Regions from separate parts of the Homo sapiens genome. Here regions 1, 2, 3, 5, 6 and 7 are each linked to region 4. Evidence: promoter capture Hi-C in 16 types of primary human blood cells and fetal thymus (Javierre and others, 2016). All regions are on one chromosome and are shown on one strand. Each heading gives the region's core, a stretch centred on a gene start or on the middle of the fragment in contact. The rest is flanking DNA. Distances are from core to core; before and after follow the strand shown.

Region 1 (3,244 bases), core at 118-2,617, 550 kb after region 4:
GATAAGTTCCATTTGGTTATGGTACATAACCCTTTTTATATAGTTCTAGACTTGGCCAGTGCTTTTTCACCAGCCACAGCTACATCTCATAGACTCTTTCCCAAAGCAAATCTCCTGTGGTGGCACTAGATCATATCTCTGATCTTAAAAACTGCTAAGTGGCAAATAATAACCAAAAAGCTGAACACTATTCAGCTGGATTCCTCAGGAGGCCCTCAGAAGCTTAATGAGACAAGCCGTGAAGGTGGCTCAGAGGACAGAGTGGTGGGAACCCCCAATTTATAGCAGGTTAGTCAGAAGTACAGGAGGCCTGGACTTGCAATTGGTGTTTGAAGTGGAGGAAGCCTTGTGGACTGAGCCTTGAACTTCAGAATCTGACTCTAACTCCAAGTAGATAGTGTCAGAACCGAACTGAATTGTGGGGCACCTTTGCTAGTGTTAGAGAACTGGTTAGAGTAGGGAAGAAAAAAACACACAGTTGGTGTCAGAAATGTCATGGGAGTGAAAAACAGATCTTTGTAGATGGGGATGAAGAATACAAGATGAGCTTGAAGCATCTTGTGTCTGAAAGTAAGGAAGTGCTCAAAAACCAAAAGGGTGGGGGCATGCCAAAAGGAAACAGAGGTCAACCTAAAGTATCTCCCCATGGCCAAAGCAGAAACCATTTGAGCAACAAAACAGATAAAGCAATGTTATGTGTAAATAAATATAAAATAAATATTTATAACTGCATACTGATATAAGTACATAATTACATAAATAATAAATGGGAAGGCTAATCTTCCTCACAGAAGAATTCCAAATAATTTATGTAGATTCCTAGGAAATAGAATTTAATTCCCCCATCCCTTTGAGTATGGAGTGCACCTAATGACTCACTTCTAAAGAATGAGAGTATAGAAAGTGGGAGGAAAGTCATTTTACAGTGACAAAAACTAGAAAGGTCCACCTAGGCCAGGTGATAAAGATTAACATCCGTAGCAATGCCATGTTGATAGCATGTACCACTGAAATGATGTGAATGGAATACAACTATGTTAGCTTCACCTCTGTGGTCTTCCTCCCAAAACCCATGACCCCAGTCTAGCTATGAGAAAAACATCAGACAAACCCAATGGAGGGACATTCTACAAAACATCTGACCAGCACTCCTCAAAACTGTCAAGGTCATCAAAAACAAGGACAAGCTGGGAAACTGTCATAGCCTAAAGGAACCTAAGGAGACATGACAATTAAGCATAATGTGATATCCTGGATGGGATCCTGGAACAGGAAAGAACATTAGTGGGAAAACTGGTGAAATGTGAATAAAATGTGGAATTCAGGTAATAGAAATATTCCAACGCTGATTTCTTAGTTGTGACAAGTGGTAATGTCTGATGCTCACAGTAAGGGAAAACTGGGTGAGGGGTATATGGAAACTCCCTGTGCTATCTTTGCAACATTTTTGTAATTCTAAAATAAAAAGCTAATTAAAAAAGAAAAAGAAAAAAAATTGGTTTCCTTGACTAAGGCTTTGAGTTTCCCAGTCTACTCAAGCAGAAGTCTAGGAAACCTGAAATCATTCAAAAATAGAGAGAGACTCAACCAAGTCTTCCTGTGTCTGAGTATCACTGTCTGAGCAGTGGCCCTACCCACAGATGGCTAGAGTGAGCAAAACACAGTGGAGAAACACAGGGCCCTTTATGTGAGGGACACTGATTTGGCCCCTTCCTCCAAGGCAGTATGCTGAGAGTGGTCTAAAGAAATTACGTCATGGAAACGCACCACGCCATCAGACCCCTGACAGGCTAATATTTGGCTGTAGAGTGGCTGAGAACATGAGTTCAGGAATACAGCCATGTCATCTAATGGATTCCTTTGTATTGGATGTTTTCTTACCCTACTACATGCAGTCATATGCCCAGTGTATGCCGTCTTACCTTCCATGCAAACAATGCCCTGAGAATAATTGCTGGTCCCTGGTTTGAGCTAGGTGCCCCTTCTGTTCCCTAGACATATCTTAATTGCTGCATCCATCTTGTTGGTCACATGCCAGCTCCCTCAACCTGGCTGGGTTGCAGGCATGTGCCTTATTCATCTCCTTATTCATCTCTGTATCCACAGTGCCCAGGGCATAATAAACTCTCAATAAATGTTCAGTGGATGACTAAACGTAAGAACAAATGACTGAATGTTCCAAACCCACAAAGGCAATCAGGAAATGTGATTATCCAAAGTAGCTTACACAAACTGAATGCACAGCTCTGTAAAACGTCAGCTTCCTTCTTTTTCTCTTCCTCTCTTTGATCACCCTTTCCCAAATGTGGAAATCCCAAAAGGGAACAAAGCCAGTTCTGAGCAGGATTTCATTTTGCAACTGTAGTTAAAATGTACTCTGTCACTTGCCACCAGCATCACTGGGATTTATATGTTCTTAGTAAGGGCCACGCTGTTCTAGATGAAGCATAAAAAATCCTATAATGATTATGTCTGGGATCTTTGCATACGCTGAATCATCTCCAAAGCTTATTTCCTACATGATCATACCTGACCCTGAAACGGCCTTGTCATGTCTTCCAAGTGCAAATAGTTGTCAGAATTTACTGAGGAGGAAATTGAGGCTCAGAGATGGCTGTCTGATATGAGGCAGATACAAGGCTCAAATCTGAACTTTTGACTCCAAGTCAAAGGTTTCTTCTGTGGAATTTCACTGCTGGTCACTTAGATGAAGAGAGAAAGACCAGTACAGAGAAAGGAATTCGAGGGTACCGTGATGTGGTTGGAGCAGTAAGGGAAGGGCTTTGGACAACAGGGACTTGAACTGGATACGTGGGAAAGAGAGGTTGTCCAGGCAGAAGGAACAGCAGGGGCAAAGGGAGGAAGCAGGAGCTGGCAGGGCCTCTGAGAGCCACCCTAAGGGGGCCAGTGACTGGGACAGTGGGGTAACACAGGCAGACCTGGGAGTAGAGAAGCCCTTCTACCTGTGAATTTCAATGGATGAACACTCACACAAAGCTAAGCTGAACCCTGGTGCCAAAGTGCCCTTGACCCAAACATGGTATGAGCATCCTTTTGCCCTCCACCATATTGTAAGGGCACATTCCCTACGCTAGGATGGTTGTAAGGATTTACCATAACTAATTTTTTTTTCCTGGAGACAGGGTCTTGCTCTGTCACCCAGGCTGGAGTCCAGTGGCACAACCATGGCTCACTGTAGCCTTGACCTCCCAGACTCAAGCGCTCCTCCTGCCTCAGCCACCTA
Region 2 (3,578 bases), core at 435-2,934, 600 kb before region 4:
TAAACCAGAATCCAGTTCTCAGGTTTCTGGAGTCTTGACTAGAACTCCTCCAAACCATCTCCTGTAGGCAGAGCAGAGATCAAAATCATTTGGGATAGTTTCAAAGGCCAAAGCTAAGACTGATGGAGTGGCTGCAGAGCAGGGTTCCAGCTCTGCATAGGGAGCATGTTTGTAACAGTTGCTGCTGGCCAGCCCTGGTGCAAGCTTCTGAAACAGGAAGCGCCCCACTGAGAAAACTGAAGCAGAACATCTCACCTGCTCCTGCCTGATTGATCCTCCCAACATCAAATTATTTTATTCAACACTTATCGCGTGCTTTCTATAAGCTGGGCACTAGGAAAAGAATGAGTAAGATGCAATCATCATTCCTCAAGGGCTCAAGTTGGGGAGACAGATACATAAGCAGATAATTACAAAACAACATGGTAAGTATGAAAATAGAAAAACTATAAGAGCACTGAAGGGGTGAACCTAACTTGGGAGGTGGATACAGTTCAGGTGGGGAATTCTTTCTGGAGGAGGTGACACCTCAGCAGAGTCTTAAAGGATGGAGTAAGGGCAGGAAGTGAAGGATAAGATGGGGTCTGTGTAGAAAGGGAATTTGGGCAAAGGGAATCAGCATGAGCTAAGAAACAGACATCACAAACAGTCTGGTTTATGAGAGGAACTCCAGGCAGCTGGATAATGCTAGAACATAAAATATGAGGGTGGAGCATGGTGAGAAACTAGATTGGAGCTGGAGACAGGAGCTAGGCTATGGAGAGCCTGTAAACTGCATTCTGCAGTGTGAACTTTGTCCTGTAGGGGCTGGGCAGGCAACACTTTACAGATTTTCAGCACAAGAGTGACTAAGTTTCTGTGATCTTTGACTTAGGAGATTCTTTTCAAAGGGAAACTGCAGTGTGGACTCAAAAGCTGCCGAACTGGGCTTTGGGAATTCAGTGTCACTGCTGCCCTGCCTGACTCATCACTGGAGGCAAGCACTGAGTTCCTTTGGTCTCCTGCCTCTTCCTCCCCTGTGTGCGGGTCCTCTTGGTAACACTGACCTCATAAAAAGGTGATGTGGGTACAAGGAGACTCAGCATTATAAAATGCTTGGAAGCCGCCAAGGGTACACATTGAGCCCTGAGCATCTTTCTGCAGTGGGGATCTTGGCTGGGAGGCAGGGCCTCAGGGAGCAGGCAACAGTGGGGGCAGGTTTGCTGCAGTGCACTCCAGGCCCAGCTGCACCTCACACCTCCTCCTCCCTCCCTCTCTCCCAATACTCTCTGGATCCTGGCTGACTTGACTTGAGGTCGAGCGGGTGGATGTGGGAGGCCAGCCACCTTGCAGGGAAAAGCATCCTGCAGTGCTCAGCCACAGTGACCATTCTGACCTCTCAGCACAGCAGGAACTCAGGCCCCTTGTACTCTTCAGAACCGCTGTACATCTTACCTCTCAAGCTGCCATTTGTAACTATTTCCACCCTCCCTTCCCATCTTCTTTAATCTCCACAGTCCCCTTCCTCATTATCTCACCCAGGGTCTCCATGTTACCTGGTTCCCTGTACTTCTTTCTGTCAAACTATGCTCCTTTACGACTCACTCCTTCCCTAGCTGCATAAATGGCTCTGCCTCCCTAAGCCTTCCTTGGTGGCTCCTCCCCACCTGATCCCTCCCTTCCATGATTCCTTTTTATTCTGAGCAATTGAGTGCATTCATCTATTTGTATTAGTTTACCTGTTCCAACTTCTTCACGCACAAATCCCTGAATCTGCCATGCCTTTCTCACTCATGATGTTTGTTCCCTCTGCTTGAAATGTCCTCCTCCTTGCCTCCCTTCTAAACTCTGCCTTATCTTTCCACACACAGCAGAAATGTCATCCTGACCCTAAGGCTTGCTTCCATCACCTCAAAGACAGATTAAATCTAATAGGACTTTGTTCACCTTTATTAAATTATGGTTTTTTGCTTAGGTCATAGCAACAGCTAGTACTTAGTACTCATGTGTCACACACCTGAGAACTTTATATATGGTAACTCATTAAATCTTCACACCACCCTATGCTATTATCTCCAATTTAACCTGCCCAAGTTCATAGCTAGTCAGTGGAGCAACTAGGATATGAACCCACATAGCATGGCTCTAATCAGATACTACACCACCTCTCCACCCAGCAAACTCCACCTGCAGATCAGGTAGCCTTTGTTCCAGAACTGCACTCAGATCTCTTGGTCCCAAATATCTGGCACACAGCAGGAGTCACTAAATGTGTTCTGAATTTAACTGAAATTTGTTTAGCATCCATTCCCATGATTTCCTCAGACGTATGTTCTGTCTCCCCAAGCTGTCCATGAGATCAAGGGGAAAGAACTAGCTCATTTGTTTTCTTCGCAGGCACACAATCACAATGCAAGATGAGAGGTGGGGAACACCCTGTGAGCTCTAGGGGTGCAGCTGGTGGAAAACTAATTTTGGATTTAAATGTGTCTTGTGTGTGCAACTGACAACGTCTTTTTCACATGCCTGATCTCGACAAGTGTTATCAACAGTTGAGGTAGGTGGAAGGATGTGAGGAAGATAAGAAAACTAGGTGCAGATTGTTTGAGACCTGGCCAAGACCTCAGAGCTAGAAATATCTGAATGAGATTACAACCCACAGGCTCTGAATAAAGCACCTGAAAGCCAGCCTCCTGTCCACTGGTGTGGTCCTGGGCAGCTGTGGCCGTCAGGAAAGGGAGAGCGTTGGGTCAGTTCTTCCCCCAGCAGCCTGGGCAGGGGTGGGAGGCTGGTGAGAGGGCAAAGGGGAGTCTGGCAGGGTGTTCTAGAGAGGAGGCCAACTGAGGAGAGGTATTAAGAGCAGGCCAGCAGGTTCGGAAGACTCTGAGGGCTTCTCAAGTGTTTGGTCACCTTTACCAGACGGGACAGAACACCATGAGAGGTGACACGATTTCCTAGTGGTATGATAATATAGATATGAGGAGTCAGGAAAAACTGGCTTATCTTTCCATCAGTTGGAGGTAGTCAATGTTTCCCTATCATTTTTAACTACCCCATTGCGTTTCTAAAAATCTGTATCTTTATTTCATTGTTCTAATTCAACACAACCGCAGATCGAATTTACTCAACGCCGTGGTAGAGGAAGGATTTTCAGGCTAGGATGAGCTCTGCAGAAGAGAAGCTTTACTTAGTAGAAAAGGCAGTGAATTTCTAGACAGAGACCTGCCCCATCTTACTAACTGGGTAGTCTTCCATATGTCTCTTCACCCCCTGGGTTTATCTCCTCTTCTGTAAAATGGGGATGAAAATGCCCACCTACCCACCTCCAAATGAGTGCTATGGCAATAAGTTGCACGAAGGCCTGTGAGCGCCCAGCCTAGGCTTTCTGCGGATCTGAACGGTCTCCAGGGTCTCTGTATCAAGCTCTTCACCATTCAGGAATGAAACACTGCGGATGTCTGCTCAGAAATGCAGGGAGAACCTCCTCCCACAGGGGACCTCCCGCCCTGCAGCTCATGAAGTGAAGGCTCGCAGATCGCCAGGCTCTTATTGTAGCTCGACAGGGGCGAGGCAGGCTAACTCCGGGGACGCAACAGGGT
Region 3 (3,796 bases), core at 1,245-3,744, 690 kb after region 4:
CAAAAACCATCTTACCTCCTTCACAGACACACAGTTATCAACCCAGTTTTTAGGGCATAATCATGAACTTGATTAGACCCAGGATCAACACCAGGTCATGAGAACTATAAAACTTGGGTTATTTTAGGCATAACATGGAGAGTATAGGCTAGAATACAAATGGCCCTATTCACTTCAAATATACTAGACCTGCCATAACCATTAGGCAAGAACTGAAGCAGACCTGGAATCTCAAAAGGTAAGGCAGCCTTCTGCTCAGTGCCGGGGTTCATTGTTTACCCCAGCTCAAATATGTGACATTTACTTAATAAAGACTAGTTTTTAGACATTGTTACCTCTCATTCTTACAATGTTTAAAAACAGACTTTATGAATTTTCTCCTAAGAACTAATTGCCATCAAAAAAACAAAAAAACAAGGGCCGGGAGTGGTGGCTCATGCCTGTAATCCCAGCACTTTGGGAGGCCAAGACAGCAGGATTGCTGGAGTCCAGGAGTTCAAGACCAGCATGGGCAACATAGACATGTTTCTTAAAAAAAATTTTTTTAATTAGCTGGGCATGGGGGCACATGCCTATAGTCCCAGCTACTCAGGAGGTTGAGGCAAAAGAATTCCTTGAACCCCGGAGCTCAAGGCTGTAGTCAGATATGATCATCACTGCACTCCAACCTGGGTAAAAGAGTGAGACTCCACCTATTAAAAAAAAAAACACTCTACAGCTTATATAATTTACAGAAATATTATGCCACCCTAGCAAATAAAAACCAAATGCTTAATATAATTACTCAGCAAACATCAATAGCAAATTAACATATTAAATACAAAACTTTTATTTTGGCCACTTACTTGCATATTTGTTCATAGCCTTGTGATGTGATTAAAACTTTCACACTAGATTCATAAACATCATTGATATTTGACCAATGAGCCTGTATCTGAGGATCCTCAATTCGGCTTGCTAAGCTGTCAATGGTTGCAGCAGCTCTTTTAAATACAAGAAGTTAAAAAACTTTTTAAGTCACCATACAAAATGATAGGAATATAAATGATTCGAAAATTTTATGAAAATTTTAAAACTAACTACTTTTTTAAACTACCACTATGTGTAGGCAGACTTTAAATAAAGGCAGAGGTAGCTCTAAGAACCCTTTCATACTGCTTGAATGTGTAGGTTCTCAGCTTGACATTACAATACACTCTCATCACACACCCCTGATTATCATGATTCATGATGGGTTTATTCCCTTTAACTCTATTCATTTTCTTCCACTCAGAAAAGCTTATCAGGAAATGAGTGAGAAGGATATTCGATATTCTACGGTATAAACCTAATATAAATCATTCATAAATGTCAGTACTTGATCCCTGGTAACAAATGACTTGGGACACACCCACATCTAGACCCATTACTGTAATGAAATTATAATCATATTCAAGAGAAGCTAGAGATTTTTTGCACAATCAAATCCTTATACTCCAAAAAAAGAAAACTATCAATACCAATGAGAAATAAGATTTATCAAGTGTTCATTATACAGCATGCATTATAACAAGAGCTTTCATGAATTATATCATTTAATCTTACTAACATATCATTTAATCTTAACCTTATTAGGTAGGCACTATTATTTCCATTTTTTAAACAGAAAAAACTTTAGCAATGTTAAGCAATTTGCCCAAGGTCACATAGCTATAAACTGGGATACAAAACCTGGGAGTCTAAATCCAGAGCCAAAAACCTGGGAATCCAATTCCAAAGCCAGTAATCTTATACACACTAATCAACAGCCAACACTTAGAACCAAAGCATAAATCATTTAAATTAACCAAACCCTCAGTTTCTAATTATCTGATTTTTAGCACTTTACTGGAAAGAGAAAGAAAGGCCTGGAAGTGGCTCACACCTGTAATCAAAACACTTTGGGAGGACAAGGAGGGACGATCGCTTGATACCAGGAGTTCAAAACAAACCTGAGCAACATATCGACAACCAGTCTCTATAAATAAAAAAAAAATAAGCTGGGCACAGTGGCGTGCACGAGTAGTCCCTGCTACTCAAAAGACTAAGGCAGGAAGATCACTTGAACCCAGCAGTTCCAGGTTACAGTGAGCTATGACTCCACCACTGCACTGCACTCCAGTCTAAGCCAGAGTAAGATGCTGTCTCAAATTTTTTTTTTTTTTTTTTTTGAGACAAAGTCTCACTCTATCACCCAGGATGGAGTGCAGTGGTGCAATCTCAGCTCACTGCAACCTCCACCTTCCAGGTTCAAGTGATTCTCCTGCCTCAGCCTCCCGAGTAGCTGGGACTACAGGCGTGTGCCACCACGCCTGGCTAATTTTTCTATTTTTAGTAGAAACGAGGTTTCGCCATGTTGGCCAGGCTGGTGTAGAACTCCTGACCTCAAGTGATCTGCCCTCCTTGGCCTCTCAAAGTGCTAGGATTACAGGCATGAGCCACCATGCCACGCCTCACCTCAAAATTAAAAAAATAATAATAAAAATAAATTTAATTTTAAAAGACAATGGGAAGAAATGAGAAGAGCCAGTGGGGACAAGGGGCTTTTACATTAATAGACTTAGGGTTTGGTCTGCTGCTGCAGTACCGGCTTCTTACAATACATTCTGAAATTTATTTTCCTTTTTCCTTGATGTGTTTCCCTGACAGTGCTTCATAATTCCTATAGAAGGTAAGTATGTGTGTGAGCATTACGAGAACCATTAAACTGGAAATAAAATTATCTAGCAATGGAAAATTGGGAAAAGAAATCATGAAGTATTTACATTATAGGATATTATACAGCTATTAAAATAGATGAAAAAATTTACAATACAATATTAAATGAATGCAAGGTAAAAAATTTGTTTGTTTTGGTGTCACCCCTGAGGTATGAACTCAGAAGGATATAAAATTTTATAAACTCCGATTTTTCTTTAAAGACACACACACACACTCTGACACATACACATAAAAATATATTAGCATGTCAAGAGATCTCACTGTGCATGTTATCATACACATCAGTCTTTTTGTCTTTTTTAAGACATGGTTTCACTCTGTCATCCCAACTGGAGTGTAGCGGGGTGTGATCACAGCTCACTGCAGCCTCAACATCCCAGGCTCATGCAATCCTCCAGCCTCAGCCTCCCAAGTAGCTGGGACTACAGGTGCACACCACCACATCTGGCTAATTTTTTTTATTTTTTTGTAGAGATGGGCCATGTTGCCCAGGCAGGTCTCAAACTCCTGGACTTGAGGGATCTGCCCAGCCTCCCTGAGTGCTGAGTTTACAGGCATGAGCCACCACACCAAGCCCAGCTACTTTTTTTAAAAAGGCTTCCTGGCCAGGCACGGTGGCCCACGCCTGTAATCCCAGCACTTTGGGAGGCCAAGGTGGGTGGATCACTTGAGGTCAGGAGTTCGGGACCAGCCTGGCCAACATGGTGAAACCCCAACTCTACTAAAAATACAAAAATGAGCCAGGCATGGTGGCGCACACTTGTAATCCCAAATACTTGGGAGGCTGAGGCGGGATGATCGCTTGAACCCGAGAGGCAGAGCTTGCAGTGAGCTGCACCACTGCACTCCAGCCTGGGTGACACAGTGAGACTTCGTCTCAAAAAAAAAAAAAAAAAAAAATTTCTTGTAGAGACAAGGTCTCACTATGTTGCCCAGGCTGGTCTCAAACTCCTGGGCTCAAGCAAGCTTCCCATCTTGGCCTCCTAAAGTGTAGGGACTACAGGGGTGAGCCACCATGCCCAGACAGGGTCTTTTTTTCTTCACTAAGCTTTTTGTA
Region 4 (3,491 bases), core at 992-3,491:
GAAATAAAAACTTCTAATTCCTAAAAATACTATTTCGAAGAATCAGGGATTCTTGAAGATGGAATAGCCCCCAAAAGGACATCTGTTCCAATCTGTCATCGGTACATATATCTTTATCACAGCATCTACACTAATTATCCTATTTCTACTTTGATAATTTCAGGCCTAGGAAAATTCACTGCTTTAAAAAGTAGTCCTGTTTATTGATAGGCAACTATAGTTCTTAGTTGGGTCCTTGTTTTCAACTGAATTTTGGCTGTCATTCATTCCTTCATTCAACTAATATGAATAGAATGTCTGGTATGTGCCAACTTCTGGGTACTGGGATTCAATAATGAGCAAGATCCATGTCTTCACCTCAGGAAGCTTACTCTAGTGTAGGTGACTGGCAAAGACATCATGTGTCTGGCAAAGACAACATGATAAGTACTACTACAAGACCTTGTCTAGAAACCATGAGTATACAGGAGGTTCATAATTCCCCTAGTCCTAAGGGATTAAAGAAGGCTTCCTGAAGGAACTGATGTTTATTCTGCTAAGCTGCCATATTAATTTTTAAACCAATATCAGCTTAAAGGGTTACACAACATATAAACCTTAATCAATTAAAGAAAAGGAGAATAACCAATAGATAATTTACAAATACGAATTCCCAGCCTCTCAACTCTATTTGTTGAAATATAATCAGTCTTTCAAGGCTCTTCTCTGATGTTATCTCTTTCATTCTTTCTTGATCCTCTCATTTAGATCGCTTTCTGCTTTCTACTTTTTTTGGTGCTACATTTCACCTCTAACTTTGTTCTTGTTTTAGCCCCTTAAAAGATTATAAGCTGAAAGATAAGGACCACATTTAACTTATATTTATCTCCTACTTGTCTATAGAAGGCATTAAGAAGTATGTGTAGCATTACATTTAATTAAAGTCTTGTCACTTGATTTTGCCTGGAATGGATTCTGAGAAGTTCCAGAGTTAGGCATAACCCCAAGATACTGATTTCTTGATACCTAATCTCACAAGTTTAACAGTATACAATCTTAATGTGGTATTAAACTTTATTACTAGTGGCAATAGCACTAAACTCAAGTTTAAATGTATTACTCATGTCCAGTAACTTTTCTGGTCCTGTTACTTTATTGTAAAATGTAAGAATTTTACTAAAGTATTCCTAAGGCCAATCCGGCTTTTCAGTCACCCAATCAGAGACACCCTTGGAATCAGAGATATCCAATCAGAATTGCTCTGTGTTTTATTAATTCTCCTGGAGCTTCCACTTTTTCTTTGATTCTCAAACTAATTCCTGAACCTTGCAACACAAAAATGACCATACATCAATTCATTAAACACTTAACAGATGCTAATAAATAAAAGTTCACTTGTAATTATATCAAATATAGTAACCTTATACCACAGATCTTACCCTCTCCCCCAACATGCTTTTCCTTTCAATAAAAACTCCCTTTATATAAATTTTGAGTTTACAGATCCAGATACAAAAAATTATGTACAAAATTTTACTGGTATATTTAGTTTAAAAAGCCAAGCCTAGGCGCATCTACCCGACTTACAGTTAAGAAACAAAACTGATGACTTGATGATGATATTCCTGATATTCCATCAGGAATGTCAGGGTATGTTTCCTAACTTAAAGGGCATATCCTATTTTGAGAGAGATCCGAACTATGTCAACTCCTTACAAACAACTCAGTGATAGGCGGGGCTATAAACCTTACTGGTGAAGGAGGTTCAGATAGATTAAAACAACTTGCCCTAGATCAAGGACCCTTCAATGGAACTGAAAGGGCAGACGTTCTAATTCAAAAGTTCTACATTATTTTTCGCTGCACTATACATCTTACTGCTCTCAGCACAAAGCAGTGCAGATGTGCTGAACTCAAGGACCTAGGGGCGACACCTGTAGAGGGTCTGGCGACTGGGAGGGAGGGAGAGGGGATCCAGCTCCGGCACTCTGCCACCAGCCGGGAGCTCACAGGCCCGTGAGCTCCGCCTGCGGCCTTCCAAACAGCCAAGAGCGGAGAAGCGGCTTCGGTCCTACCTGGGGACCACGAAGCGGCCTGACCTGCAGGGCTCGGCCTGTGTCCACAGGCTACCCACCCCCACGGGCTCAGGAGTTCTTAGATGGCGCCGGTCCATCAAAAAGCGAGGTCCGGGACAGGGAATAACAACCCACCTGACAGAAGGGAAAATCGCCGCCTTGCATCTCACTTCCGGGTTCGTCTCCTAGCCTGCTCAGGATTGGCTCCTGCGTGAGGGCGGGGCCTCGCCGCTACTTTCCCCGCCCCCTCACTGCGTGCGGTAGCCAATGAGAGCCGAACTGGACTTGAAGCATCTACGTTATCCATGAAGTGTCGCGAGAGAAACGGACGCCGTTCTCTCCCGCGGAATTCAGGTTTACGGCCCTGCGGGTTCTCAGAGGCAAGTTCAGACCGTGTTGTTTTCTTTTCACGGATCCTGCCCTTTCTTCCCGAAAAGAAGACAGCCTTGGGTCGCGATTGTGGGGCTTCGAAGAGTCCAGCAGTGGGGTAATTTAGGAATCGCATTCGTCTCCTGTTTCTGCAGGTTCCCAGGCGGAAGCCCAGAGTTAACTGGAACCTCGGGAAGAGCGGGCCGAGTGGGCAGGGGAGGGGTCCTGGCGGGCTCAGCGTTCTGATTCCGAGGTTCCCTGCGGTGAGGGCGTGTTGAGGCTTGGAATCCCGACGGAATCTGGAGCTCCAGATGTGGTGGGGGTTGTCTCGCGGTGGCAGCCACTCTTCCCCAAACCTGGCTATTTTCAGTCATCCTGCTGGTGCTTAAAGGTGTTCCTCCGCAGACCACGTGTTTGTTTATTTACACTCGCTTTAAACGCGGGCCCGTTCCCTTTTCCAAACTAGCCAGGTCCTTTAAAAAAAATCGTGGGGTTTGAATAGGAAATACAGGATTGCCTCTGTTCTCCAGAGTAACCTATGCGTGCAACTTAAAAATATCTGCACATCTAGAGTTGTTTGTGTGTTGAACCAGAACCGTATGTGACCCTTTCTGCCCATTTATTTAGCATACATTAATTTCCCATAAGAGCACGGGAAAGGAAAATAGGAGTTTAATCATCTTGGTGAAACTAGGAAACAGGATGTACACTGGAGATATATTATTTTCTATGCTCAGTTCATTAAAAAAAAGTATAGTGGGTGCTTAGATGAAAATGAGACTTCTAAATTTGCCAGTCTAATTAAGACGTCTGTACCTTGTGCAGCGTAAATCATGTTGGTTAAATACGTGCAGGCTTTTAAAAAATGTGTTTTATGATGTAATTTTGTTTTTAGAATTTCTAGAATTTGGAATCGAGTGCATTTTCTGACATTTGAGTACAGTACCCAGGGGTTCTTGGAGAAGAACCTGGTCCCAGAGGAGCTTGACTGACCATAAAAATGAGTACTGCAGATGCACTGTAAGCACCTGACTTCTGGAATCCCTTGTTATTTGGGGTTTCTAAAGC
Region 5 (3,668 bases), core at 901-3,400, 650 kb after region 4:
TCTCATTTAGTCCTTAGGGCAACCCTAATAAACTACTCTTATTCCTGTTTCACAAGTGAGGAAACTGAGGCACAGAAATGTTATAAGCCAATCGCAGGGGCTCATGCCTGTATTCCCAGCATTTTGGGAGGCCGAGGCCAGCGGATCCCTTGAGTCCAGGAGTTCAAGACCAGCCTGGGCAACATGGCAAACTGTCTGTAGTAAAAATATGAAAAAATTAGCTGGGTGTGGTGGCCTGTGCCTGTAGGCCCAGCTACTGGGGTGGGCGGCGGGGGAGCTGAGGTGAAAGGATCACTTAAGCCCAGGAGATTGAGGCTTCAGTGAGCCCTGATTGTGCCACTGCACTCTAGCCTGGGGAACAGAATGAGACCTTCTCCAAAGCGAAAGAAAAAGAAAAGAAGAGAGAGAGAGAAAAAATAATATTATGTTAACTTATACAAGGTGACTGAACGATCTAACATTTTTGACCTTTACACCTCTCTGGCTAGAACCCAGCTGCAGAGGTTGCAAATCTCAGAAACCCAGTAAGACAGAGGCATGTTCCTCTGGCAGCTATGGATCAAGAAAACAGTTGGTTGTTAGTCTCGAGCAGGTGGATGGGTGTGTTTGTCATTGCAGTGGCTTTTTATATTATTTCTCAAACCTTTATCACTTGTTTCTAATCACCATACTTACACATCTGTTCAGATACCCCTCATGCTCAGGGACCAGCCATTTGCAATAGCGTATAATTCATTCATTCACTCACTCATTGACTGTACCCTCTCCCTGCAGGAAGCAGGCCACAGTGGGTACCTAGGATATGGTGGTTCACTGTTTCGTTCTCAGGAAGCTCAGGTGTCATGGAGAAGACAGACATGCAAACAAGAGGGGCAGCCTTGCAATGGCAAGCCTTGAGAGGCAAGAGGTGCCATGTTCTAGAAGCCCTAGCGTCTCAGAATCCAGACTTGAGGAAACTTCCCCAAAACAGCCCCACCTGCCCATACCTGCCAGATGGGTAGGAGCAGCTCGGGGGACAGGACAAAGGGAATGCAGGGTGTACCAGACAAAATGGCACATGCAAAACCTGGAGGCCAGGTAAAAGTTTGCAGTTTTCCATTGAGACCTGTCTCATGGACAGCAGTAAGCTCCAGGAGGGCAAGCACTCTGTTTCAACTCAGGGTCCCTAGCACTTGCCCAGTGCTAGCCAGGGCCTGCGCCCTTAAAAGACGTTAAATGAATGTGTGCCTGCCTGAATGAAGCCTGTGCTTTGGAGCCAGTCATAATGATGAAGAGTAGGCCTCCTCCTTCCTACCAGTTCCCTGCATGCTCTACCTCTTCTGCCTGTGTCAAAAGCTTCATCCAGAACCTCTGATATTCACTATTTACCCTGAAGTCTGAGTTAAAGCATGCCAAACACCCTGCTTTTGAAACCTTTCCCCTACAAATGTATGGGTCCTCCCAAGATTCATATATTCAAGCCCTAACCTCCAATGTGATGGTATTTGGAGGAGGGGATTTAGGGAGGTGATTTGGTTTAGATGAGGTCTTGAGGTGGGATCCCATAATGGGATTAGTGTCCTTATAAGAAGAGGAAGAGAGACCAGAGCTCTCCCTCCCAGCTGTGTGAGGACACAGCAAGAAAATGCATATTAGCAAGCCAGGAAGAAGGCCCTCACCAAAAACTGGCACCTTGATCTTGAGCTTCCCAGCCTCTCCAGAACTGTGAGAAATAACTGTGGTTTAAGCCACATCAGTCTATGGTCATCTGTTACAGCAGCCCAAGCTGACTAGGACAAGGACTTATGGGCTCGGAAAGCTGGCAGGCCTCCCCACCAGACCAGGCACCTTTCTAGAACATTTGTTCATGTCCTTTCCCAGTACATTAGCCATCAGGCTCACGAGTACCCACCCAGTGCTCCCTCTCATTCGGAAGTACTTGATCCAAGACTATAGTAGGATAGTTTAGTTAATGGCCTGGGCCAGAATCAACTTGCTTTTTTCCAATCCCAGTTTCTAAGTAACAGTCAGCTCCCCCAACACACACACATATACACACTGGGGCCAGTCCTCAGAAAAATAGAGGAACAGGGCTAGGGCTGAATCTGAAGCTGAGGAGGGAGTGGACAGACCCAGGGATGCCACAGCCAGAATGGAGCTGTGGGTTCTGGGCTTAGTGGAAGGTGGGGGCGGATGGGATGAGGAGGGAGCCAGTATAGAAGGAATCCTCTCAAGGCCCTTCACGAGACTCTGGGTCCATCACTCCATAAGTCCTCAGCAGCTGCCCAACGCTGCCATCCATGTGGCAAACATCTTAGAAGCACCTACTATGTTGCCGTGGGCCGTGCACTGATCCCTGATCAAACAGAGACACATGAGGTGTGGTCTCACTCTGCACTGTCCTTTCAGATTTATAAAAAATATTTTTGCATACATACAAATGTACCCACTGGAAAAAAAGTGAGTTTCCAATGTACTTTTAAAAAATGCAATCATGGGGCCAGGTATGGTGGCTCATGCCTGTAATCCCAGCACTTTGGGAGGCCGAGCCGGGCGGATCACAAGGTCAAGAGATCGAGACCATCCTGGCCAACACAGTGAAACCCCGTCTCTACTAAAAATACAAAAATTAGCCGGGCGTGGTGGCAGGCGCCTGTAGTCTCAGCTACTTGGGAGGCTGAGGCAGGAGAATCGCTTGAACCCGGGAGGCAGAGGTTGCAGTGAGCCGAGATCATGCCACTGCCCTCCAGCCTGGTGACAGAGTGAGACTCCATCTCAAAAAAAAAAAAAAAAAAATTAAAAAAAATTTTTTAAAAATGCATTCATTCTGTACTGTTTATTCAGCAACTTAGTTTTACACCAATTTTTTTTAGCTCTATCCATGTTGATAAAGGAAGTGCATTCCTTTCAACTTCTCTACATATGTCATCATATAAATATGCTGCTTTTTACTTAGCCAGACCCCACTGATGGACAATTAAGCTTTCAGCTTTTAGCCCTCACTCAGGGGAGAGAAACTCCTCATACAGGGTGATGTGTGCAGTGCTAGTGATGCGCACATCGTATGGAAGAGGTGCCAGCTCCCTGGCTGATGGGCACCCCTGCACACACACTTCCTCCCCATCTCAGAAAATGCCTGAAAGACAAAATTGAAGCTGTTGGGGGTGCGGGCTGGAGTCAACTGGAAAGTCACACAAATGTCTTACTTCCTGATCTCCAAGAGCCTTCCTGAGTATGCTCCCTGCTGGTCTAGGAGCGGGGCAAGGGCCAGGAGACTCTCCTCTCCATTATCCCCAGGACCTAAGGACAGCTATATCCCTTATCTGATGTAAGACTCTTTGGGAAAAAACAAAAAAAAACTTACTATATCTAAAGTCAGAATTCATGTTATAAATCAATAGCTTTGAAGCTGGGCACAGTGGCACACACCTGCAGTCCCAGCTACGCGGGAGGCCGAGGTGGGAGGATCACTTGATCACTTGAGCTCAGGAGTTTGAGACCAGCCTGGGCAACACAGTGAGACCCTGTCTCTAAAACAAACCCACAAAAAGGCTTTAATACAATTTTTGTCAGCCTGGATTGAAGTTGAGTTATTCCAAAGAGAATGTGTGTTGCTTCTGCCAGTCATGGGAGGCATCCTGCCTGGCGAGTCAGAAAACACTTCATGGAGCAGGTGAGGTTGACTCTTG
Region 6 (3,232 bases), core at 364-2,863, 680 kb after region 4:
AAAGGGGAGTTGGAAAAGAACACCCACTAAGAGGCCTCCATGGCAGATGTCAATTAAATTGCCCCCCCGCCCAAATCTCATGACAGTTTATTCACATCAGTAGTGTGGGAAGTTACAATGTTTTTTTTAAAAAAAGCTTCTTTCCTTGGCTTTCCATTTCTTTGAAAAAAGGGTTTCTTTTGAATTTTTAAAGCTCTGCCATACTGAACATTCCTGTGGAAAGGTTTAAAATGCAGAGCCTGAGGTTTTTGCTTTTCAGAAAAATAAAAATCTTAGAGATTAGCTAGTGTAAATGTTAAGCTATAAATTATATTTCAAACTGTGAAAAAAAAAAGTTTTAAAGAATGAATGAAATAAAACCTGAAAATAAAGCCCTGGTCCTTTGTGTGTGTGTCTGCTCCTGCCAAGAAATCAGAGGCTCTGGGTGCTGTGTCCTGTCAGGCTGAGCATAAACAAAACCCTTAATCACAGTCAGGTCTGGCACATATTTTAAGTGACAACGCAACTAATTACACTGGTTCTAACAGTAAACATTATTTAGCAATTCAGAAAAACTACACCTTATCAGCACCACCATTCTCCCCCAATTGTAGCCAGAAGACCAATTTGAAATTTATGCTTTCAGAATATTAACTGTAATTCAATAGCATTCTTCCTGCTTCTGGAATGGGCCAAAAGTAGGATGTGATAATTGTACCACTTGTTCAGCAGTGGATAAGATACCCTACAGAACACACATGCTTTGTCAACAGAATGTCCTTTCAGAGGTTATGATCTTAGAACCCCAAAAGGTATATACTGTACTTTCTCATTTCATGGTGTTCCGTGTATGCAAGGAGAGCTCATGTCCTCTGAAGGCCACATAAGATGGTAAATACCTGAGAGCACTTCATGCATACTCTGATTTGAAGCAATACCTCACAAAGGTGAGAAGCTAAGGCAGTGAGAGAGGTTATCAGGATATCTTGCCCCAGGCAAGAATGCAGAGACAAACCCTACAATTCTGAAGAGCTGGGTAAGTGTTAACAAGGGATTGAGAAGAGATGGCAGAACAGAATGCTGGAGATGTAACCAGGAACAAGGAGCCAAATATGACAGGGTGAATCCCCAGGGACGTGATTCACGTGCTGCCTCCTTGACAACACTGGGGAGGATACTGGGGGAAGTGGAAACCATCTCACCGGCATCAGCTTTTACATATCCAGCATAGGTTTCTTCTGCCCAGTTTCCAGGGAAGCATCAGACACATCCATAGTTTACTAAAAGCAGAGCAAATCCTTGTGATCACTGTTAGCACATCTATCCCCAACTCAATATCCACTAATGGTGTGAGTTGCCAGAGCTTGCATCTCTCTGCACCCCTGAATCCACCCAACCTGGCTGTCAGCTTTTCCAATTCTTGAGAACATTTCCACTGCCCTTTAAAAATTAAGTGGGTATTTTTGGTTTGGCTTAATTACAGAGGTGATAAATCCTTCTTTAAAATTCAGATAGCACTAAAGTCTATATATATTAAAGTATCTTTGGCTAGAGTTAATTAACAAAAACTAAATAAAGTAAAAGATCTCTCTCCTTCCCTCAATCCAGAGGAAACAATAGTCGAATTTGGTGTGTATCCTTCTAGACTTGCTTATGCATATATGAACATATCTGTGTATATATATGCCAAATATACATATTTATCCTATTTTCTTTCTAGTCAAATGGGATTCTATCATATATATTACCCTACAACTCACCAGTCTTTCCTTAATGTGTCGGGAATTATTTCATGTCTACCTATTCCAAAACTTCATTCTTCTTGCCTGCACAATGCAGTCTATAGTATGAATACACTATTTTTTTTTTTTTTTTTAAAGAATTTTGCTCTTGTCACTCAGGCTGGAGTGCAGTGGTGCCATCTCAGCTCACTGCAACCTCCGCCTCCCAGGTTCAAGCGATTCTCCTACCTCAGCCTCCCAAGTAGCTGGGATTACAGGTGTGCACCACCATGCCTGGCTAATTTTTGTATTTTAGTAAAGACAGAGTTTCACCATGTTGGTCAGGCCAGTCTCGAACTCCTGACCTCAGGTTATCGGCCTACCTCAGCCTCCCAAAGTGCTGGGATTATGGGCATGAGCCACTGCGCCGGCTGGGTTTTTTTTTTTGAATACACTGTAATTGTTCACTGAAAAATTACTTTTTATTTCAAATGATATATACAAAAATCATCTTAGGCAAACTTTCTATGTATCAGGCTAGTTCCTTCAACCAAGATGGTTTCCTCCTGTTAAGTAATGCATTCAACTCTACCTCCTGTGAATCTCTTAGTCTTTTAGGGAATTCCATGTTCCACGATTTTGGTGGGTTTTACATAAAATTTATCAGAGATTGAGTATTGGTGGAAGAAAGGGTATTGATAATGTAAAATAAATCTGAAGTTTTAGTGTTAGATTTGGTTTTATAAAGTACACATTATCAAACCAAACTGGGGTCTGCTCATCTGGCACAGCAAAGCCAAGCACTGACGTTGGGACTGCAGCAAGAGGAAGTGAGGCATTTATTGTAGGGCACCAAGCAAGAACTCCAACTCCTCAATGGCTTACAGGTAAAGGTTTTAAAGGTGGGGAGGCAAGCCTGGGTACAATGGTTCACACCTGTAATCCTAGCACTTTGGGAGGCCAAGGTGAGAGTATCCCTTGAGCTGGTTTGAGATGAGTCTGGCCAACATAGTGAGACCCTGACTCTATAAAACATTTTTAAAAATCAGACAGATGTGTTGGTGTATACTTGTAGTCCCAGCTACTCAAGAGGCTGAGGCAGGAGGATTACTTGAACCCAGGAGGTTGAGGATGCAATGAGCAGCTGATTGCACTACTGCACTCTAGCTTGGGTAACAGAGCAAGACCCTGTCTCAAAAAACAAAAACAAGAAAACCCCAAAAAACCCACAAAGGTGGAGAGGCAGAGGTTACAGGCAAAGTCATAAATCAATACACGGAGGCTATATATTGGTTTGATGTAAAAGGTGGGACATCTTGAAGTAGGGGCCAACAGGTCATAGGTGGATTCAAAGATTTTCTGATTTGCAATTGGCTAAGGAGAAGCTTTGTCTAAAATTTGGGTCAACAGAAAAGAATGTTAGCTCCAGCTCACAGGCATGACCTCCTCCAGGCCCCTCGGGAAAAAATTCAGAACAAAGAACGGCAGCCCAAGTTGTCCTTGCTTATCTGAGGTCTACATGCCAGCAAATC
Region 7 (3,331 bases), core at 588-3,087, 610 kb after region 4:
CAGACCCAATAATGGGCTTGGGAGACCCTTTCTGGGACATGAGTATGAACAACTGTTCACAACCAATTTACCAAAAAAAATAAAGTCAAACTGATTTATTTGACAAACATACCACACTTCCCCATGCTTATAATCATGTCTCAAACCCAAGAAATTAAAATGTCAAGATGATGAAAATAATACTATATCACACAATCTACAAAATTCTACTGAATTTTACTTGCTACAACCTTTCATATATGATCCCAAAAGTGTAGGTAAATGGTGAGATGTTTGGCATCTCACTCTATGACTTTGTACCTAAGAAAAAAAACAATATTTATTGTGAAGGTAGCATGTGTTGGATACTGTGCTACGCACTTCATATACTATCTCATTTAATAGCATAGAGAAGCAGAATAACAGAATGATGGGGAGAAGAGTTTTATAAGCTAAACAGCCTGGGCTCAAGTGAAGCTCTGCCACTTACTAACTCTGTGCCTCAGCTTTGCAATTTATAAAATAGATAGAATGAAAATAATGGCACTTTTTTGGCCAGGCACAGTGGCTCATGCCTATAATCCCAGCACTTTGGGAGGCTGACGTGGGCAGATCACTTAAGACTAGGAGTTCGAGACCAGCCTGGCCAACATGGCAAAACCCTATCTCAACTGAAAATACAAAAATTAGCCAGGTGTGGTGGGATGTGCCTGTAATCCCAGCTACCTGGGAGGCTGAGGCGCAAGAATCTCGAGTCCAGCAGGCAGAGGTTGCAGCGGGCTGAGGTCATGCCACTGCACTCCAGCTGGGGCAACACAGTGAAATCCTGTCTTAAAAAATTAAAAGGCCAGGTGTGGTGGCTCATGCGTGTAATCCCAGCATTTTGGGAGGCAGAGGCAGGTGGACCACTTGTGGTCAGGAGTTCAAGACCAGCCTGGCAATATGGTGAAACCCCATCTCTATTAAAAATACAAAAACTAGCTGGGTGCAGTGGCCCATGTCTGTAATCTCAACTACTCAGGAGACTGAGGCAGGAGAATTGCATGGCCCAGGAGACAGAGGTTGCAGTGAGCCAAGATCATGCCACTGCACTCCAGCCTGGGCAACAGAGCGTGACTCAGTCTCAAAAAAAAAAAAAAAAGAAAGAAAGAAAAATAAATCACAGTACTTTATTCATGGGGTTGATTAACTGATTAAAGGACTAAATGAGTCATTACAGGTAAGGCAGATAGGACAGCATTGGCTTTCTAGTGTCAGAAATTCACCTTTATCTTCACAACAACCTGGTGAGATTAGTATGATAATACTCAATTTAAAGATTAAGTAACCATAGTTCAGCGAGGTGAAGCAATTTGCTCAGGGTCACAAAGCCGATAATGCCATAGCTAGTATATGAATTCAGGAATGCTTCAAGTATAGCCCAGGAATGAAATTCCCGGAATTAGTTCACACATGAGCTCCTATCATGCACAGGCACTGCAGATAAAGTGAAGAACAAGAAAATGAGATCCTGTTGGCTTAGTTGGGGAAAAAAAGAAAGTCAAATATAAACAAATAGATGAATAAAGTAATTTCAGATAGTAAATAAACAAATAGATGAATAAAGTAATTTCAGATAGTAATAATGCAGTGAAGATGATAAAACAGACTGATGTCAATAAGCAAAAACTAAAATTAACACAAATGTTCATTAAAGATGAATGAATACACTGACTCTACTATATCCATAAAATGGAATAGCAAGGAATACAATATTGATACACACAACATAGTGGATGAATCTCAAAATCATGATGGCAGGAGAAAACCAGACACAAAAACTAAATGCTGTGTGATTCTATGTATATACTGTCACGTGCATCCATGTGAAGAGACAACCAACAGGCTTTGTGTGAGCAACAAGGCTGTTTATTTCACCTGGGTGCAGGTGGGCTGCGTCCGAAAAAGGAGTCAGCAAAGGGTGGTGGGATAATCATTAGTTCTTATAGGTTTGGGATAGGCATACAAAGGACATTCTCAAGCGTGGGGAGAATATTACAAAGTACCTTCTTGAGTGTGGGGGGGAATATTACAAAGTACCTTCTTAAGGGCAAGGAAGAATACTACAAAGTACCTTCTTAAGCGTGGGGGAGAATATATCGTATCAGTTAGGGTGGGGCAGGAACAAATCACAATCATGGAATGTCATCAGTTAAGGCTATTTTCACTTCTTTTGTGGATTTTCAGTTGCTTCAGGCCATCTGGATGTATATGTGCAGATCACAGGGGATATGATGGCTTAGCTTGGGCTCAGAGGCCTGACAATAACATTCCAGAAAATGCAAATGAATCTCTTAACATAAAACAATTCAGTGGTTGCCTAGGGCTGAGGGCAGAGGAAAGAATAGACTGCACAGAGTAAACTTTTGGGGTTGATGGAAATGTTCTGTGAAAGAAAAATAAATCTTCAGGCCCCCAAATCACTAAAGGGAAAAGTCAAGCTGGGAACTGCTTAGGGCAAACCTGCCTCCCATTCTATTCAAAGTCACCCTTCTGCTCACTGAGATAAATGTGTATCTTACTGCCTCCTTTGGAGAGGCTAATCAGAAACTCAAAAGAATGTAGCCATTTGTGTCATTTGTATCACACCTGTAATACCTATGACCTGGAAGCCCCTCCCACTTTGAGTTGTCCTGCTTTTGCTTCAAGCTGTTCCATCTTTTCTGGACTGAACCTACGTTCATTTCACATATGTTGATTGATGTCTCATGTCTCCCTAAAATGTATAAAACCAAGCTGTGCTCTGACCACCTTGGACACATGTCATCAGGACCTCTTGAGGCTGTGTCACAGGTGTGCATCCTCAACCTTGGAAAAATAAACTGAGACCTGTCTCAGATTTTCAGGGCTCACATTCCAGTAACCACAGAGGGATTCTGAGTGGAGATGCCCCTGACTTTTGACAAATCTCTTATCAGTGCTTAGTACCAGCATGAGCTAACTTTATGGTCAAACCAATAGCACAATTTGCTGAGGTCTGGGAGCACCCCCTCCAGAAAGGACCTGATCTCCCAAAATTTGGTCAAGATCTAAAGTTTGTTTTGCTATACAACTCCCTTTTTTGGGAGTTTTATTTGCTTCCAACAAGGAAGGCAAGTTTTCCTGCTTCAATGATGAGGGAAGGCAGGTAACTCCTTTATGCAGTTTGAGCTGGCTTCCAAAAGGGAAGATAGGTTTTTTTTCCTGCTTCTAGGATGGTGGAGAGCAGTCTTCAGCCTGAGACCCATCCCTAAGTAAGTAGCTGAATTGGGGTTTTGTCTTGGCTAAAGTTAACAACCAGCTGGTTTTAATTTCTCCTTACCATAAGAGTACT

The links. Contacts are between HindIII fragments. The CHiCAGO score rates a contact against its expected background, and 5 or more counts as called.
Region 1: a fragment that was not itself captured here is called in contact with the fragment with the promoter of ANKRD49 in region 4 in 1 of 17 cell types (endothelial precursors); the score reaches 5.7 in endothelial precursors.
Region 2: a contact is called between a fragment that was not itself captured here and the fragment with the promoter of ANKRD49 in region 4, in 1 of 17 cell types (total CD8 T cells). The highest score is 5.3, in total CD8 T cells.
Region 3: a contact is called between a fragment that was not itself captured here and the fragment with the promoter of ANKRD49 in region 4, in 13 of 17 cell types (activated CD4 T cells, naive CD4 T cells, total CD4 T cells and 10 more). The highest score is 9.1, in activated CD4 T cells.
Region 5: a fragment that was not itself captured here is called in contact with the fragment with the promoter of ANKRD49 in region 4 in 2 of 17 cell types (erythroblasts and endothelial precursors); the score reaches 7.4 in erythroblasts.
Region 6: a contact is called between a fragment that was not itself captured here and the fragment with the promoter of ANKRD49 in region 4, in 14 of 17 cell types (M1 macrophages, naive CD4 T cells, M0 macrophages and 11 more). The highest score is 12.8, in M1 macrophages.
Region 7: a fragment that was not itself captured here is called in contact with the fragment with the promoter of ANKRD49 in region 4 in 1 of 17 cell types (endothelial precursors); the score reaches 5.0 in endothelial precursors.

What each region holds. Positions count from the first base shown.
Region 1 is chr11:93,938,518-93,941,761 of GRCh38, reverse strand. It overlaps the pseudogene LOC101060084. Among named protein-coding and RNA genes, the nearest start is that of HEPHL1, 81 kb to the left of the region's middle. The HindIII fragment of the contact is 2,285 bases long and covers 225-2,509 here.
Region 2 is chr11:95,090,378-95,093,955 of GRCh38, reverse strand. The region is part of intron 1 of ENDOD1 (endonuclease domain containing 1); the gene reads right to left. Among named protein-coding and RNA genes, the nearest start is that of ENDOD1, 2.3 kb to the right of the region's middle. RefSeq lists a silencer at 737-1,031 and an enhancer at 737-1,031. The HindIII fragment of the contact is 2,956 bases long and covers 207-3,162 here.
Region 3 is chr11:93,799,022-93,802,817 of GRCh38, reverse strand. It overlaps MED17 (mediator complex subunit 17), which reads right to left. Exons shown (of 12, transcript NM_004268.5): 9 at 846-983. Among named protein-coding and RNA genes, the nearest start is that of MED17, 17 kb to the right of the region's middle. The HindIII fragment of the contact is 2,427 bases long and covers 1,281-3,707 here.
Region 4 is chr11:94,492,734-94,496,224 of GRCh38, reverse strand. ANKRD49 (ankyrin repeat domain 49) reads right to left here and starts at 2,241. Exons shown (of 3, transcript NM_017704.3): 1 at 2,190-2,241. It overlaps MRE11 (MRE11 double strand break repair nuclease), which reads left to right and starts at 2,381. Exons shown (of 20, transcript NM_005591.4): 1 at 2,381-2,434; 2 at 3,319-3,443. The coding sequence starts at 3,424. RefSeq lists an enhancer at 1,942-2,031. The HindIII fragment of the contact is 5,313 bases long and covers 369-3,491 here.
Region 5 is chr11:93,845,874-93,849,541 of GRCh38, reverse strand. The region is part of intron 1 of VSTM5 (V-set and transmembrane domain containing 5); the gene reads left to right. Among named protein-coding and RNA genes, the nearest start is that of VSTM5, 2.9 kb to the left of the region's middle. The HindIII fragment of the contact is 1,626 bases long and covers 1,338-2,963 here.
Region 6 is chr11:93,815,371-93,818,602 of GRCh38, reverse strand. VSTM5 (V-set and transmembrane domain containing 5) reads left to right here. Exons shown (of 4, transcript NM_001144871.2): 4 at 1-371. Among named protein-coding and RNA genes, the nearest start is that of MED17, 33 kb to the right of the region's middle. The HindIII fragment of the contact is 2,949 bases long and covers 139-3,087 here.
Region 7 is chr11:93,878,312-93,881,642 of GRCh38, reverse strand. It overlaps the pseudogene LOC101060084. Among named protein-coding and RNA genes, the nearest start is that of VSTM5, 29 kb to the right of the region's middle. The HindIII fragment of the contact is 8,409 bases long and covers 1-3,331 here.